Regions from separate parts of the Homo sapiens genome. Here all the other regions are linked to region 1. Evidence: promoter capture Hi-C in 16 types of primary human blood cells and fetal thymus (Javierre and others, 2016). All regions are on one chromosome and are shown on one strand. Each heading gives the region's core, a stretch centred on a gene start or on the middle of the fragment in contact. The rest is flanking DNA. Distances are from core to core; before and after follow the strand shown. Region 1 holds the start of ALG5 (ALG5 dolichyl-phosphate beta-glucosyltransferase). Region 2 holds the start of SUGT1 (SGT1 assembly cochaperone of MIS12 kinetochore complex). Region 3 has its middle 16 kb from the start of HNRNPA1L2. Region 4 holds the start of VPS36 (vacuolar protein sorting 36 homolog).

What was found. The method cuts DNA at HindIII sites, captures the fragments that hold promoters and counts their contacts. A CHiCAGO score of 5 or more calls a contact.
Region 2: a contact is called between the fragment with the promoter of SUGT1 here and the fragment with the promoter of ALG5 in region 1, in 1 of 17 cell types (activated CD4 T cells). The highest score is 12.0, in activated CD4 T cells.
Region 3: a fragment that was not itself captured here is called in contact with the fragment with the promoter of ALG5 in region 1 in 1 of 17 cell types (naive CD8 T cells); the score reaches 5.6 in naive CD8 T cells.
Region 4: a contact is called between the fragment with the promoter of VPS36 here and the fragment with the promoter of ALG5 in region 1, in 1 of 17 cell types (non-activated CD4 T cells). The highest score is 8.5, in non-activated CD4 T cells.

Annotation. Positions count from the first base shown.
Region 1 is chr13:36,997,031-37,000,598 of GRCh38, forward strand. ALG5 (ALG5 dolichyl-phosphate beta-glucosyltransferase) reads right to left here and starts at 2,310. Exons shown (of 10, transcript NM_013338.5): 1 at 2,205-2,310. The coding sequence starts at 2,270. RefSeq lists a silencer at 2,226-2,525 and enhancers at 2,986-3,035, 3,496-3,568. The HindIII fragment of the contact is 11,758 bases long and covers 1-3,568 here.
Region 2 is chr13:52,651,225-52,654,792 of GRCh38, forward strand. It overlaps SUGT1 (SGT1 assembly cochaperone of MIS12 kinetochore complex), which reads left to right and starts at 1,612. Exons shown (of 13, transcript NM_006704.5): 1 at 1,612-1,734; 2 at 1,822-1,879. The coding sequence starts at 1,697. SUGT1-DT (SUGT1 divergent transcript) reads right to left here and starts at 1,083. Exons shown (of 1, transcript NR_170300.1): 1 at 81-1,083. RefSeq lists enhancers at 913-1,252, 1,362-1,863, 1,973-2,092 and a silencer at 1,343-1,612. The HindIII fragment of the contact is 4,517 bases long and covers 1-3,568 here.
Region 3 is chr13:52,624,555-52,628,122 of GRCh38, forward strand. It overlaps a transcript of HNRNPA1L2 not described here. Among named protein-coding and RNA genes, the nearest start is that of HNRNPA1L2, 16 kb to the right of the region's middle. The HindIII fragment of the contact is 805 bases long and covers 1,164-1,968 here.
Region 4 is chr13:52,448,762-52,452,329 of GRCh38, forward strand. VPS36 (vacuolar protein sorting 36 homolog) reads right to left here and starts at 1,873. Exons shown (of 14, transcript NM_016075.4): 1 at 1,738-1,873. The coding sequence starts at 1,833. RefSeq lists an enhancer at 1,459-2,039 and silencers at 1,560-2,019, 2,060-2,119. The HindIII fragment of the contact is 2,912 bases long and covers 1,254-3,568 here.

The sequences.
Region 1 (3,568 bases), core at 1,060-3,559:
ACATCGAGTATGTATGTGATCAGGTCTCTCCATCCTAACTACCAGTTTATAGAAAATTTGAGATAGAAGATGTTAAAAGGCATTAAGGGGATGCAATCAAAGAAATCCAAATTGTGAGAAGTTCTACAGGACAAATGATCATATTAAAGACAAGGAAAAAGGCCGGGCGCGGTGGCTCATGTCTGTAATCCCAGAAGTTTGGGAGGCCGAGGAGGGTGGATCACCTGAGTTCAGGAGTTCGAGACCAGCCTGGCCAACATGGCGAAACCCCATCTCTATTAAAAGTACAAAAATTAACCGGGAGTGGTGGTAGGCGCCTGTAATCCCAGCTACTCAGGAGGCTGAGGCAGGAGAATTGCTTGAGGGCAGAGGTTGCAGTGAGCCAAGATCACACCACTGCACTCCAGCCTGGGTGACAAGAGCCAGACTCCGTCTCAAAAAAAAAAAAAAAAAAAAAAGACAAGGAAAAGAAAAAAAGGGGGAGGAGAAACTGTCAACTGATTAAGAGACTCAAGACATCAACAGAGTACAATGTGTGGCACTTGTTTGGATCCTGATTGGAACAAACAGACATATATACTGAGACATATATGAGACAAGTGAGGGCAAGTGAACTGAGGGGGCATTTGAAATCACAGAATAAATTTAAATCTGTGACCACTTTATTGTGGTATTTTAAAAAGAAGGACCTTATCTGTTAGAAATAAATGCTGAGGATTTAAAGATAAAATGTCTTCGAGTTGTTTTAAAATAATTCAGAAAGGAGGTGAGACTGTGAGTAATGGAGAGTGGATACATATGAAGACAGGATGAGGTTTTGAAAAATTATTTTTTTAATGATTTCTTGCTCTGGCATTTAAAAAACCTAAGTTTCACTAGTTGTGCAACATTTGAGTACACGAGCTCATTTCTCCAACATGTTTCCTCACCAGTAAAATAATGCTAATGATAACATATATGTCACAGTGTTAAAGATTTAATAACTCCTATTAAACCAAGTGCAACACAACATATAGTAAGTACTACAATCAATAAATGGTAGCTCTTATCACTTCAAGCTAGTGGGAACAAATACCGTCAGTACAATCCCATAAAATCTGTGCAAAAGACCCAAAGTAAGGCAGCTTCAATCTAAGAATGTGTGAATCCACTCCCCGCCCGCACCCCGCCAAAAATCAATCAATCAATCAATCAATCCTGGTTTGCTCAAAAACTTGAAAAAACAAAAAAGCCCTAAACCCTGAAATCTCTACTAGTTAGGGCAAGAGAGGACTCCTCTCTCACCCAGATACTATCAACAAAGAAGTAAGGATGCATTACATTTTATCTAAACTGTAAATTTATACAACCTCTGGAAAGATGGCAGAGTGGCCTTCCTGGCAGTGCTGTCTAGGTGGCTAATCTGAATGTCAAGGAAGCTGAAATCCTCTCCACTTACTAACTAGAGGGCAGGCTCATTCCAAGGTGTGCGGGAGAGAGTTCGCCAATTTTCTACCACTTAACAATCAGCAAGTGTTTACAATGTTTTTGTGTTTCGAGAGCAAGGGCAAAGACAATCGAGTTTGCATTCTATCGTCCTGCCTTGTTTAGGGGCAGTATATTTAGGGTGCTTAATTCTGGGACACAATGCGACCCCGGACAAGGCGCCTGAGGCCTGTCTCTCTCGCTCACCCTGCGTCCCTAGTGGGTCTCATCGATCCACGCATTTATTCCCATTTGTAACAGATGGCTGCCGTCAAGGCTCCGTCACCCCTATTTGCTTAACCACATCAGCCAAGGGAGCAGGCTAGGGAGCACACCCCTTCTGGGGGCTCGAGACCTCCCTGGGTGGAGCAGAACTGCAGCGGCTGCAGGTCCCGGAGAGTCTGGGAGAGGTCGAGGTTGACAGAGGAGGTGGGTAGGGGGCGCGGGCGCCAGGGGCGATGGAAGCGGCGATGATGCCAGGCCGGGTGGGTGCGCTCCAGTGTGAAAAAACTTACAAGTCTCTGAGCACACAAAGAGATAAGATTCCAAGGGAAAATTAAAGAACCGAAGAAAAGGAGAGTGAAACTCCAGGAAACTCCGAGGTCAGGAATTTGGGGGAATCTAGGGGAAAAGGGACTTCTCCGAGAACTGGTAGCGCGGAGGAGGGGACGCCTGAGGAGCCGCAGTCTCCAGGAGAGCGGTAAGCCCCGGCCTGCGCGGGTTCCCATCCCTGTTCTCACCAGTACGAGGGCTGCGGCCGCCAGCGCCGCGCCGAGCACCGCCAGCTGCAACAGAAGCGGAGCCATTCTCCATGCCGTGGCAGCCCGCCCAATCCCGCACCTCCACACAGGCGGAAGCGCGCCCGCGCGACCCGGCCCCGCCGCCAGAGAGGTCGCGCCCGCTGGCCGCAGCGCCCCCGCGTGGCGAGGCGGAGAAAACGCCGCTCTCGTGCCCTCGGCGCCCAGTCGGTGGAGAGGAGCGCTAGGTTCCACAGCGGGGCGCCAGGTTTATCAAGTATGCAAGACGTCTACTTAATTTGAATTTCAGATTAAAAAACTAATCATGTTTTTAACAGCCTTATTAAGATAGCCACATACCATACGACTCATCCAGTTACAGGTTTCTGGTTTATTACATTAGTTTTTATAAACTGTGGTAAAATAAAAAGTTGCCATTTTAATCATTTTAAGTTTACAATAGTGAGTGGCATTAATTACATACATACTGTGCAACCATCACCACTATCTATCTGTAAAGCCTTCCCAGCTCCCTCCAGGTTCTGGCAACAACTAATTGCATGCTCTATTTGGGGCATACTCATGCTTTAAAAAAAAAAAAACCCACAAAAAAACAAAAACAAAAAACAAAAAAACCACGCTGTGTTTATCAGACATTCAAATTTAACGTGGTATCCTGTATTTTATCTGGTAACCCCACCTAGGAGGGAGATGGCAGCCTTGAGCACGACACAGTCTACAACACAAGGTGATGCTTAGGAGCCCTCAGCTCCGGGACCTGCAGAGCAGAACGTGGTGCGGACAATGAGCGCACAGAAAGTTCAGGTTTCTCGGCCGAGCGCCGTGGCTCACGCCTGTAATCCCAGCACTTTGGGAGGACGAGGCGGGCGGATCACAAGGTCAGGAGATCGAGACCATCCTGGCTAACACGGTGAAACCCCGTCTGTACTAAAAATACAAAAAATTAGCGGGGCGCGGTGGCGGGCGTCTGTAGTTCCAGCTACTCGGGAGGCTGAGGCAGGAGAATGGCGTGAACCCGGGAGGCGGAGCTTGCAGTGAGCCGAGATCGCGCCACTGCACTCCAGCCTGGACGACAGAGCGAGACTCTGTCTCAAAAAAAAAAAAAAAAAAAGTTCAGGTTTCTCATGTGTTGGAGCACGGAGCCCTTGACCAGTGAAGAGGCAAGGCCAGGGCTGAGCCTAAGTCACAGGCAGAAAAAAGACGCAGAAACATTGGAATAACGCTCCACACGCACTGCTTGATTCTGCGCTAGAAACCCTGTTATCTCCGAACTGTTGGTGTTATTCTGAGTCACAGCACCAGCTCTTTTATAAAGAGGGAGACCCGCTCCTTCTTTAACAGCAGAT
Region 2 (3,568 bases), core at 362-2,861, about 16 Mb after region 1:
AAATGAACATTTCAATAAAGGCAGAAAAAGCAGTTGATATTCAATGCTTTCCTCCTGATGTTATGACCAAGACAAGGAAGTCCATTATCACTGTTTTTATTCAATAGTGGAAACACTAGCCAGCAACAAAAGGCAAAAATAAATAAAAATAAAAGGTATAAAGGTTACAGAGAAGTTAAACCATCTTTATTCGTGGATTGCAAGATTTTGATCACAGAAATTCCGAAAGAATCTACAGAGTATTACAAATAACAAGGGAACTTAGCAAGATGCTTGCATATAAGGTCAGTATGTTAAAATCAATATTGTTTATTCTTACGAGTAGAATATAAAAAAGTCAAAATGCCATTTAACATTGTATACAAAACACTAAATACTCAAGAATAAATCTAATGAAAGATATATATGATCTCTATACTGCAATCTATCCAAGCACAGCTGCATTAAAATATAGATATATGTGCAATCTACAAAATATTGCCAGGAGAAATTAAAGACCGCTTAAATAAATGGTGGGGGAAGAATGATATTCATGGATTGAAGGACTTGTTGTTAAGATACTAGTTTTCCCAAACAGATCTATAGATTCAATGCGAGCCCAATAAAAAATCCCCCCCCTTTTTAACAAGCTAATTCCAAAATTCACCTAGAAATACAAAGGCCGTAGAATAAGCCAAAACAATCTTGGGAGAATAAGTTACAGGACTTAAAGATTTATTATAAAACTACATTAAATTAACATAGTTTGGTACTGGTATAAAGTTAGACAAAGACTACTCCCTCCCGCTCCTCAATCTGCCCCCATCCCTAGAACGTGCTGGCAGCTTTCTCCATCCGATCTGCAAGGGTTAAAGGGCGCTGAGGAAGGGCTGACCGACTGGGGTGGGAAACAAAGCGGCACTGAGATAACTTCAGGCCACCTTCCTCCCCTCAGTACCTTCGGATGAAAGGTTTCCCTTCTTGGTCTGGGAAGCCCACTAAGAAGAAAGCCTGGGCTGTGGCGTTCTGGGGAAGTGAATAGTACGGCCGCCGGGCGCGTCGCCCCAGGAACCAGAAGGCTTTTTGCCGCTATTAGTGCAGAATGACTTCCGGCAAGTCCCAGTCGTTTAGAATCCCCAGCCCAAAGATCGCGGGGATCCACGCGTCATCCGGGCCTCTGCTCCCGGAAGAGACCACGCAGCCGCTAAAGACGTAATGGAGGCGAAAGGGCTTGGCTAGCTGTGGCAGCCATGATAAAAACTAGGGAAAATGGGAGCTCGAAGTAGCTTCCGTTATTAACAGACATACAAACGCCCCTAACCGCCACACGTTCCTTAGGGATGACAGTACGTTACAAAAGTGCTTCTAAAGTACTACTGAAAGCTCCGTGGGAGTGCCCGCTGGCGTGGGCGCGGTGGAAGGGAGGAAGAACGTGTACGCCCCAGGCCTCCGTAACCATGGCTGCGAGGGGCGGGGACTGGGAGCGCGGGTCCTGGGCCGGGGTGCGGCTGGGAGGAATCGGTCCTCCACTGTCCCAGCCGGCCCCGCGCCGGCGTGTCGCCTCCCGTCCCCCTAGCAGCACGCTGCGTGGCTGCTCGCTGGCTATTTAGGACGGAAGCTCGGTTGGTGTTTCTCCAGAAGTTTCCCCCTTGGGCGGTGGTGGAGGTGGTAACCGTGATAGTAGCAGCTCCGGCGGCAGCAACAGCGACTACGAGGGATGGCGGCGGCTGCAGCAGGAACTGCAACATCCCAGAGGTGCATGTTTTTCTTTCCCTTTGGTATTTATTTTATCCCCCTTTCCTTGGCTAGTGAGCCCTGCTGAAGTCGTTGTTTTCCTGACAGGTTTTTCCAGAGCTTCTCGGATGCCCTAATCGACGAGGACCCCCAGGCGGCGTTAGAGGTGAGAGAGCCCATTTCTGCTTCCTCCACTCTTCTTAGGGGAGCTGGGCCACTTCGGGTCCCCGCTGACCCGCCTTCTCCCCGCACCGCCGGACAGGGACCCAGGCTCTTGTTGATGCTGCGTCTCAGCTCCGGTATTGAGATTCTCCGTCTCTTTTCTCTGTTACACGGTAGCCGCGTTACCCCAGACTCCTGTCTTGCCCTTTCCACTCCCTACAGCTCCTGAGAAAAACCTCCTCTATTTCTTGGGAGCATGGTTGGCATTTGTAGTTTGGCTGAAAGGATTTTTTTTTTAATGACATTTATGATTAGAGAAGTGGACTCTGGGCTCGATGAAGTTAATTTTTTCGTTTGACAATAATTCTTGCCATTCTTACGTAAAAGTGTCGGTATGAAGTCAGTCTACTGGAGCAAAACCCTTTTCCCTCACGTCCCTGAAACTTTCCAGATGTCTTATCACAATTCATTATTCACTCATTTGTATATTCATCAAAATTTTTTTTTGGAGTGGCTGTGTGCAAAGGCGCTGATTGCTGTGGGTTAAAGTCTTGGTTATATACTCAGCTAACCTAGAAATCACTTTTTGTAGGTGTGCAATGAAGGCAAACCATAAAGCTGTAAAGGAATGTAAAAGATCAAGAGTTAAATAATAAGAATTAAAGGAGAACCTAAAGATAAATGATGCTGCGGGTCACAGAATTTAGCCAGGAGTTTTTGTTTGTTTTTGCGTTAAATCACAGAAAAGAGGAAACCTGTTTTGCTGTTACGTTTAACAATTTGAGGCAAGACAGCGTCTTTTCTAGCTATGACTTTTATAAGAAATGTGCCACATGGTACTAGAGCCTCCGTTGAGGAGATCTTTGAGTGGAGATTTGAAGGAACAAGGGAATTAACTTGGAAGCTCTGGGGAAAGAATATTCCAGGCAGGACCAAGAGCCAGTGCAGATCTTGAGGTAGGAATGAAGTTGGCCTGTATGTGAAGCAACAAAAAGGCCCTTTTTATTAGAGGGCCCATTTGATTAAGAGAGGTTGGACAGGAAACTAGGAGCCAGGTCCTATAAGGCCTTTTAGGGTCCAGGTGTGTTTTTTACACCTAAATATATAGACCTTTAGATACTGGGAGTAAGGCTTCTGGGATGAGTTTGGGGATAATGTTACAGGAAGCACTGAGAATTTTTCTCCATAATTTCTTGTATTAGCTAGACAGCTATGACTTTTAATTTACATTTGTTATTGTCGTGTTAGACCTAGTGCTTCCTTTGGGAATCCAGTTTATATAAAAGTTGCTTTTAAACAGTATTAACATAATGAATTTTATTGTCACTTTCCATCTTCTTTTACTTTAAAAATTTTTATGGAGGCATATATGATTTATGTAAATAACACAGATTTTAAGTCTATAGTTTGATGAGTTTTCACATGTTTACACCACCAGATTAAGATACAGAGTATCTCCATTCATAATGCTCCTTAATGCGCCTTCTCAGCCAGTAATTCTTCTTACTGTCCTGCTGACTCCTGCTTTGACCTCCATCACCATCAGTTAGTTTTGTTTGTTCTTGACTCATAAACAGAATCATACAGTAGGTGCTTTATTGAATGTAGACACTCTTTTTGCTTTAATGATTACATAAGTATACATTCATATTGTGTGAAGTAGTAGTTCTTTCGCATTGCTGTGTAATATTCC
Region 3 (3,568 bases), core at 316-2,815, about 16 Mb after region 1:
TAGGAATGGAGTAATATACATTTGGCCCTCTGTATGCGTAGGTTCTGCATCCACAGATAACTTCTGATAACGTTTTTTAAGAAACACAGAAAAAAATACCAATTAAAAAATACAGTATAACAACTACTTATGTAGCATTTGTTATATTAGGTATTACAAGTAATCTAGAGATGATTTAAAAGTATTCTCGAGGGGCCTGGAGCAGTGGCTCATGCCTGTAATCCCAGCACTTTGGGAGGCCAAGGTGGGCAGATCACTTGAGGTTAGGAGCTGAGACCTACCTGATCGACATGGTGAAACCCTGTGTCTATCACAAAAATACAAAAATTAGCCGGGTGTGGTGGCATGGGACTGTAATCGCAGTTACTCGGGAGGCTGAGGTGGGAGAATCCCTTGAACCCGGGAGGTGGACAATGCAGTGAGCCGAGATTGTGCCAGTGCACTCCAGCATGGGCAACAGAGTGAGACCCTATCTCAAAATAAAAAAAAAAGTTATGAAGGGGAAAAGTATGTATTCATGAAATAGTTTTAATTACAGGATTGAATAGATTGTTAAAAGATACTTTTTTTTTTTTTGAGATGGAGTCTTGCTGTTTTTTGCCCAGGCTGGAGTGCAGTGGTGTGATCTCGGCTTACTGCAACCTCCGCCTTCTAGGTTGAAGCGATTCTCCTTCCTCAGCCTCCTGAGTAGCTGGGATTACAGGTGCACTCCACAATGCCTGGCTAATTTTTTTGGTTTTAGTAGAGATGGGGTTTCACCATGTTGACCAGGCTGGCCTCGAACTCCTGACCTCAGGTGATCCACCTGCCTCGGCCTCCTAAAGTGCTGGGATTACTGCCATGAGCCACCACGAAGCCCTGAAAGATACTTTAACAAGTTCTCATTACATTGTTAAAATCTATGAAGAAAGATCCTTGTATGTAAAAATTATCTTGTTCAATGACACAGGCTCCCTACAATTTTTATTAATTAGAACTTTATAAATTATAAAGCCAGAGACTATAACTATGAAGGAAATTATTGTTATGAAATGCATGATTCTGAAAAATGAATATTCACCTATGTTCTGTGCCTACTCTGATCAAATACATATATTAAAATTTGAAAATGAAGTTTACAAGTGGTTTATGAAAGAAATAACAATGATGTGGAATACGGTTAAAGCTTTATTCACAGATAACAGTTCTGAAAGTACATTTCATTTTAACTATTATATTTCCTTTTTTCTTTTTCTTTTTTTGAGACAGGGTGTTGCTCTGTGGCCCATTCTGGAGTGTGGTGGAACAATCATCACTCACTGCAGCCTCAACCTCCCAGGCTCAAGTGATCCTTCCACTCAACCTCTCAAGTAGCTGGGACTGTAGGCATGTGCCACCACTCCTGGCTAATTTTTTTTTTTCTTTTTGTGGAGATGGGGTTTTGCCATCTTGCCCAGGCTGGTCTTGAACTCTTGAGCTCAAGCGATCCTCCCTCCTTGGCCTCCCAGAGTGCTGGAATTACAGGCATGAGCCACCATGCTGAACCCCTTTTTTCATTCTTCTATTTTTCTTCCATTCCTATCAGATTTTAGATCTTCCATATATATCTCAATTAAGTCCTTAAAATCTTTCTCCAAGAACTTTAGGAATTTGGGAGCTTTAATTTGAATATTAGGTAATAGATCATAATACAGAAAGCCAGGCATAATAAAATATTAATTTGGGTCCCACTTATTGAGATGGCAGTTCTCAGTGAGTTTAAAAATGTCGCAAATAGCCAGGTATGGTGACAGATGCCTGTAGTCCAAGCTACTCAGGAAGATGATGTGGGAGGATTGCTTGAACCCAGGACTTCGAGGCCAGACTTCACGACATACTGAGATCCCATCTCTTAAAAAAAAAAAAAAAAAAGGAAACAATGTTGTATACAGTTTACTTTCTTTTCATAATAGGATGTTTTTATATTAACTTGCTCTAATTTATTTAGGAAGCTTTTAAAAGCTTTTTCTTATGAAAAATTTAAAATATACGCAAAGTACGCAAAATGGTACAGTGAACCCCTTTATACTGTCACCCAGCTTCAACAATGATCAACATTTTACTATTCTTGTATTATATATACCTTCACCCAGTTTTCATCTCCTACTTGATAATGATTGATGGCTTTTTTTTTTCAGGTAAAATTTACATACATTAAAGTGTACAAATCTTAGCTGGAGGATTTTGACAAATGGATAAGCCCATGTGACCCACACACTTAACCAAGACACTGTGTTTCCCATTTTCACCTTCCCAGTTAGTAGCCTTCTGTCCTGAGGCAATTGTTGTCTTGATTGTTTTTTCACCTCAGATTAGTTTTGCCTGTTCTGGCACTTGACAGCAATGGAATCATACAGAATATATTCTGTGTCCAACTTCTTTCACTTGCTCTAATATCTGTGAGAATCATTCATGTTGGCATGAGCTGAGTACTCTTCCATTGTTTGGATATCTGACAATTTGTTTTTTCATTCTAACAACAGACCTTAGGTTGGTTCCAGTTTGGGGCTATTATGAGTAAAGCTTCTGTGAACAGGTTAAGCTGCCTTAATATTTGCTTGCAATATATATTGTTTTTGAAATACAATAGCATCTAATTGAAAATTCCACTAATTTATAATTTTTGAGGCTGATCCCTCATCCCTCCACCTTAATATATTGTTCTGAATTAGCATTTCAAAGTTTATATAAAACTGGTACCTAATAGTTGAGAATTCCTGCTTTTGTCAGATATTGAATTGAATGATACTTTTTTGATCAACAGAAAATTTTCCCCCCAAAATCATTTTGCTTTTCACTAAACTACTGGCATAATAAGCAATCTCTCTTTTTTCTTTCTCATTTGGTTTTCATTTTCTTTTTCAGAAATGAGCCCCTGAGTCCTGAGTTGGTGGCAGCTGCATCTGCTGCTCTGTTTTGACAAGCAAACAAGCCAGAACTGCTCAGGCAGCTCCGTAGCATGAGGAAGAGTCAGGGGCACAGAGAGATGGAGAGAGACCTAGTTAGGTAAGTGAATCAAACCATTAGGTTAGTAATGTTTATATCTCAAAATAGGCCATTTTCATGTGGCTAGTAAGTAATACACATAATATATACCACATAAGTGGAATTTACATATAGAATATACCATATAAGTAGAATTTTAGCAATTCAAGTTTTTAAAAAACTTATGTCTTAAGTAAGATTATAGTTTTAAGAGACCAATTGAATAGTTACTGTCCTTTTAGGAAGTTACAGTTTCTTGTCCATGAAACAAGGAATGATAAATTCAGTAATGTTATTAAAAATAACAGAATAAGATAGCTTTTCTGAGAAAAGTAATTTTTTTTTCAGTTAAATAGCTTGCTGGTTTTATGCATGGTATAGCAATCTTCAGGTCTGTTTCCTTCTCTTTTTCCTCCTATTCTTATGTTTAAGCTGACATCTTTCCACTTACTCTCTTCATCTCTCATTATTTTATGCTACGTTAGACTCCTTGCTGCCTACATTGTAGTAAGTGGTAACACTGCTTCATTTTGGAGAGTGATCTAAATCTGTTATTCCCAATGAG
Region 4 (3,568 bases), core at 623-3,122, about 15 Mb after region 1:
AATTGGAGTTCCATAGAACAGTATCATGCCATGCTCTGCAAAAGCATGACTTCCTAGTGCTCCCTCAGGGAGTGGCACTGGAGGAGTCTCTGAGGACAGATCTAACACTGTCAACATTCGGTTCCTCTCAAAGGGGAGGCAAAATCAAAACACCGAGGAAGGGGAGGTGGATTAACCTTCCCATTTTAAATAGTCACAAAGATGTAAATTGGTAAGAAAGGAGAAAAAAATAGCTTGTCACTCCAATCCGGGGATGGAAGACTCATCTTGAGATCAAGATAGTTAAAGTGCCAAGGCAGGCTGGGCACAGTGGCTCAAGAGCCTGTAATCCCAGCTGTTTGGGAGGCCCAGGCGGGCGGATCATTTGAGGTCAGGAGTTAGAGACCAGCCTGGCCAATGTGGTGAAACCCCGTCTCTACTAAATATGCAAAAATTAGCCGGGCATGGTTGCAGGCGCCTGTAATCCCAGTTACTCAGGAGGCTGAGGCAGGATCTTGAATCTGGGAGGCGGAGGTTGCAGTGAGCCCAGATCGCGCCACTGCACTCCAGCCTGGCGATAGAGCGAGACTCTGTCTCAAAATAAATAAATTAATTAATTAAATTAAGAAGTGCTAAGGCAGTAAGTGAAGTTAGGTCCAAGCAAATTATTTAAGGAAAAGACCTTTACTCACTAATACAGGCAACACAGCCCATAGAAAATGCCCTAAGAGAGTCAGAGGACCTGGGTCCAATGTCACCTGTGCCTCTAAATAGCTGTAAGCACTTACCAGGAAAAGCTGAGTTGAGGAACTTATATCAAAGTACAGCGGAAAGTGTCGTTAATAAAACGGCAAGGGAAGAGAGGTAGCAAATTAAAACTTCTGGAAACCAAAAATGCTTGTGGGTAAATGAGTTTTAAAATTTTTCTAATTCCAGTTTATCCATTTCAATCCAGGACAAGATATTTCATAGTTTCAGTAAAGTATCTACAAAATATTTACTTACACTTCCTATTTCTCCTCTCGATTTGCAAACGCACCTTCTAAGATTTATGCTTGCACTACAAGGCACGGTCTACTATTAATATAACACTTTACAAAACACGCTCAGAACGCCTTTCTAAAGCAATTAGAAAACAAAACAAAAACCCAATAGCCTTTGGCAAGGGCATTCCAATGAAGCACTGATACCTCTTTAGGAAATCCTTTCGAAGCAATCCCTCACCCCTCTGCCCAGATATGCTAATCCCTCCGACTGCATAAGGTCCAAGCTAAAGCTTCCGCTGGGGCACGGACTGTACGGCCACCGCGCCCTCCTCACAGAAAGGCGAAACGGGGCTGTCCGGTGCCGACGCCGAGGTTGGTGTCGTCAGGGGGTCTGGAACCACGCCAAGGAAGTCGACTGCCGGATCGCCGCCCGGCGCCCGCAGACGGCGAGCGCTCCTTCTCCCGGGCACTGCAGCTGTGCGCTCCCGGAAGCATTCCGGGCGGAGGGAAGCGGCCGCGATCCGCGCCTGCTGGGAACCGTGCCAAAGTTGGGACCCGCGCTGGGGAGGCAGCCGAGCGCCCCACGCCACGTGCTACCGACCGGCGGGGAGCGCAAGAGCGCTGCACCCCGCACAGAGGCCTGCCGGGCCGCCGAGGGCCGTGAGCTAAGCCGGGGACCGGGCCGCGCCGACCCGGGCCGCGCTGAGCCGGGCCGCGCGCCCACCGGGGGTCCCTTCCGCCAGCCCGTTGGGAAGGTTGGCAGACGCCCTACCTTCTCCTCGCCATCGTAGATTCGCACCCCGCGCTGCTGGATCACCAGGGTCTCGTTGATCTCCAGGAGGCCGCTGGTCCAAACGAAGCGGTCCATGGCCGCTGCCACCCAGCCCCGGCCCTCCGAGGCCGCGAGCAGCGCGCCAGGCAGCCTGCGGCGCCCCCTAGCGTCGGACGGGACGGAAGCGAGTCGGGGCGGGTGAGGGACGGAGGGAGCGGCCTGGCAGCGAGCGGGCGCGGCTGCGAGGTGCGCCCGGGGACGTGGAGACGTGCGTGGAGCGCCCCCTGGCGGTCCATTAGCCGCCGGCCTTTCAGAACCCTTGATCAGCAGGCGGTCCACCCCATTCTAAATTCAGAGCTTACAGGGACGCGAGGGAGCCCCGACCACAGCTTGGACTTGCTTATTGTGCATTATGCCTGCATGTTTGTGGCAGTTTTCTTGTCAGTGCCCAGAATGTTGCTACATTCGCTAATGATTGTAAATAATCATAACCCCTCTCTTTCAAATGAATATTTATGGCACGCATTGTTTCTGTACAGCTGCAGTCAGTACTACCTGTGCTGCTCTTTTTTTCCCTTTAAGATTATATTGTAACACAAAGGATAAATGCTTGAGGTAACGGATACCTCATTTACCCTGATGTGATTATTATACAGTGTATGCCTGTATCAAAATATCCCATATACCCCAGAAATATATACACCTATGTACCCACACAAATTAATTTTTTTTTAACTGGGGGAAACAGATTTTATTTAACCGGGCTTGATGCGCGCGCCTGTATTCCCAGCTGCTTCCGAAGCTGAGGCGGGAGGATTGCTTGAACCCAGGAGTTTGACACCAGTGGGCGACATAGAAAGACCCTTTCCCCCTCCACCCCAACTCCCCCACGCCACTCCACTCCCCCACCCCCAGGCTCAGAAAAAAAAGATTATTTTTATTTAGGCATTTTCAATATTAATACAGACCTCATGCGTGAATTTACATTTCAATATGTAGTTCCTCTATAATTTAGCTGTTTGTTGGTCTGCGCAAAGCCATCCATGGCCGCTGCTCTCACCCACCAGGCGGCCTCGTGCCCCTAGCCATTTCATTTTTGTATTTTGCTTTATAAATGGAACACCTGGCCGGGCGCGGTGGCTCACGTTTGTAATCCCAGCACTTTGGGAGGACAAGGCGGGCGGATCACAAGTCAGGAGTTCGAGACCAGCCTGGCTAACATAGAGAAACCCTGTCTCTACTAAAAATACAAAAAATTAGCCCGGCGTGGTGGCGGGTGCCTGTAATCCCAGCTACTCGGGAAGCTGAGGCAAGAGAATCGCTTGAACCCTGGAGGTAGAGGTTGCAGTGAGCCGAGATCGCACCATTGCACTCCAGTCTGAGCGACAGAACGAGACTCTGCTTCAAAAATAATAATAATAAATAATAAATAAATAAATAAATGGAGCAGCTTATAGATGTCCTTCTACAATTGATACATATTTTTCTCTTTAGGATTATTTTCTTACAGTGTCTTCCTAAAATAGAATGACTGCTTTAAAGGTTGTGAACACATTTTAGAGAGCCTACCACTTATTGGGGTCTTAACTAAGGCTGCGTGCCCACGTGGGCAGAGGGGCACAGGGGCAGAGGGACAGAGGGCAGGCTTGCTCTCTGCCCCCAGGGCTCCACATTTCCCCCAGTCGTGGAGTCAGTGGTCTGTGGCTAGGCATTAAAAGAAAGGAAAGGCTCTTTCCAATGAGTATAAGCCATCTCTCCCCCGAAATGAATTGCTACTTTTACCGTGTTCCAAAATCCTGTGTGTATTTTGGTCTATTTCTAAACAGTGTCT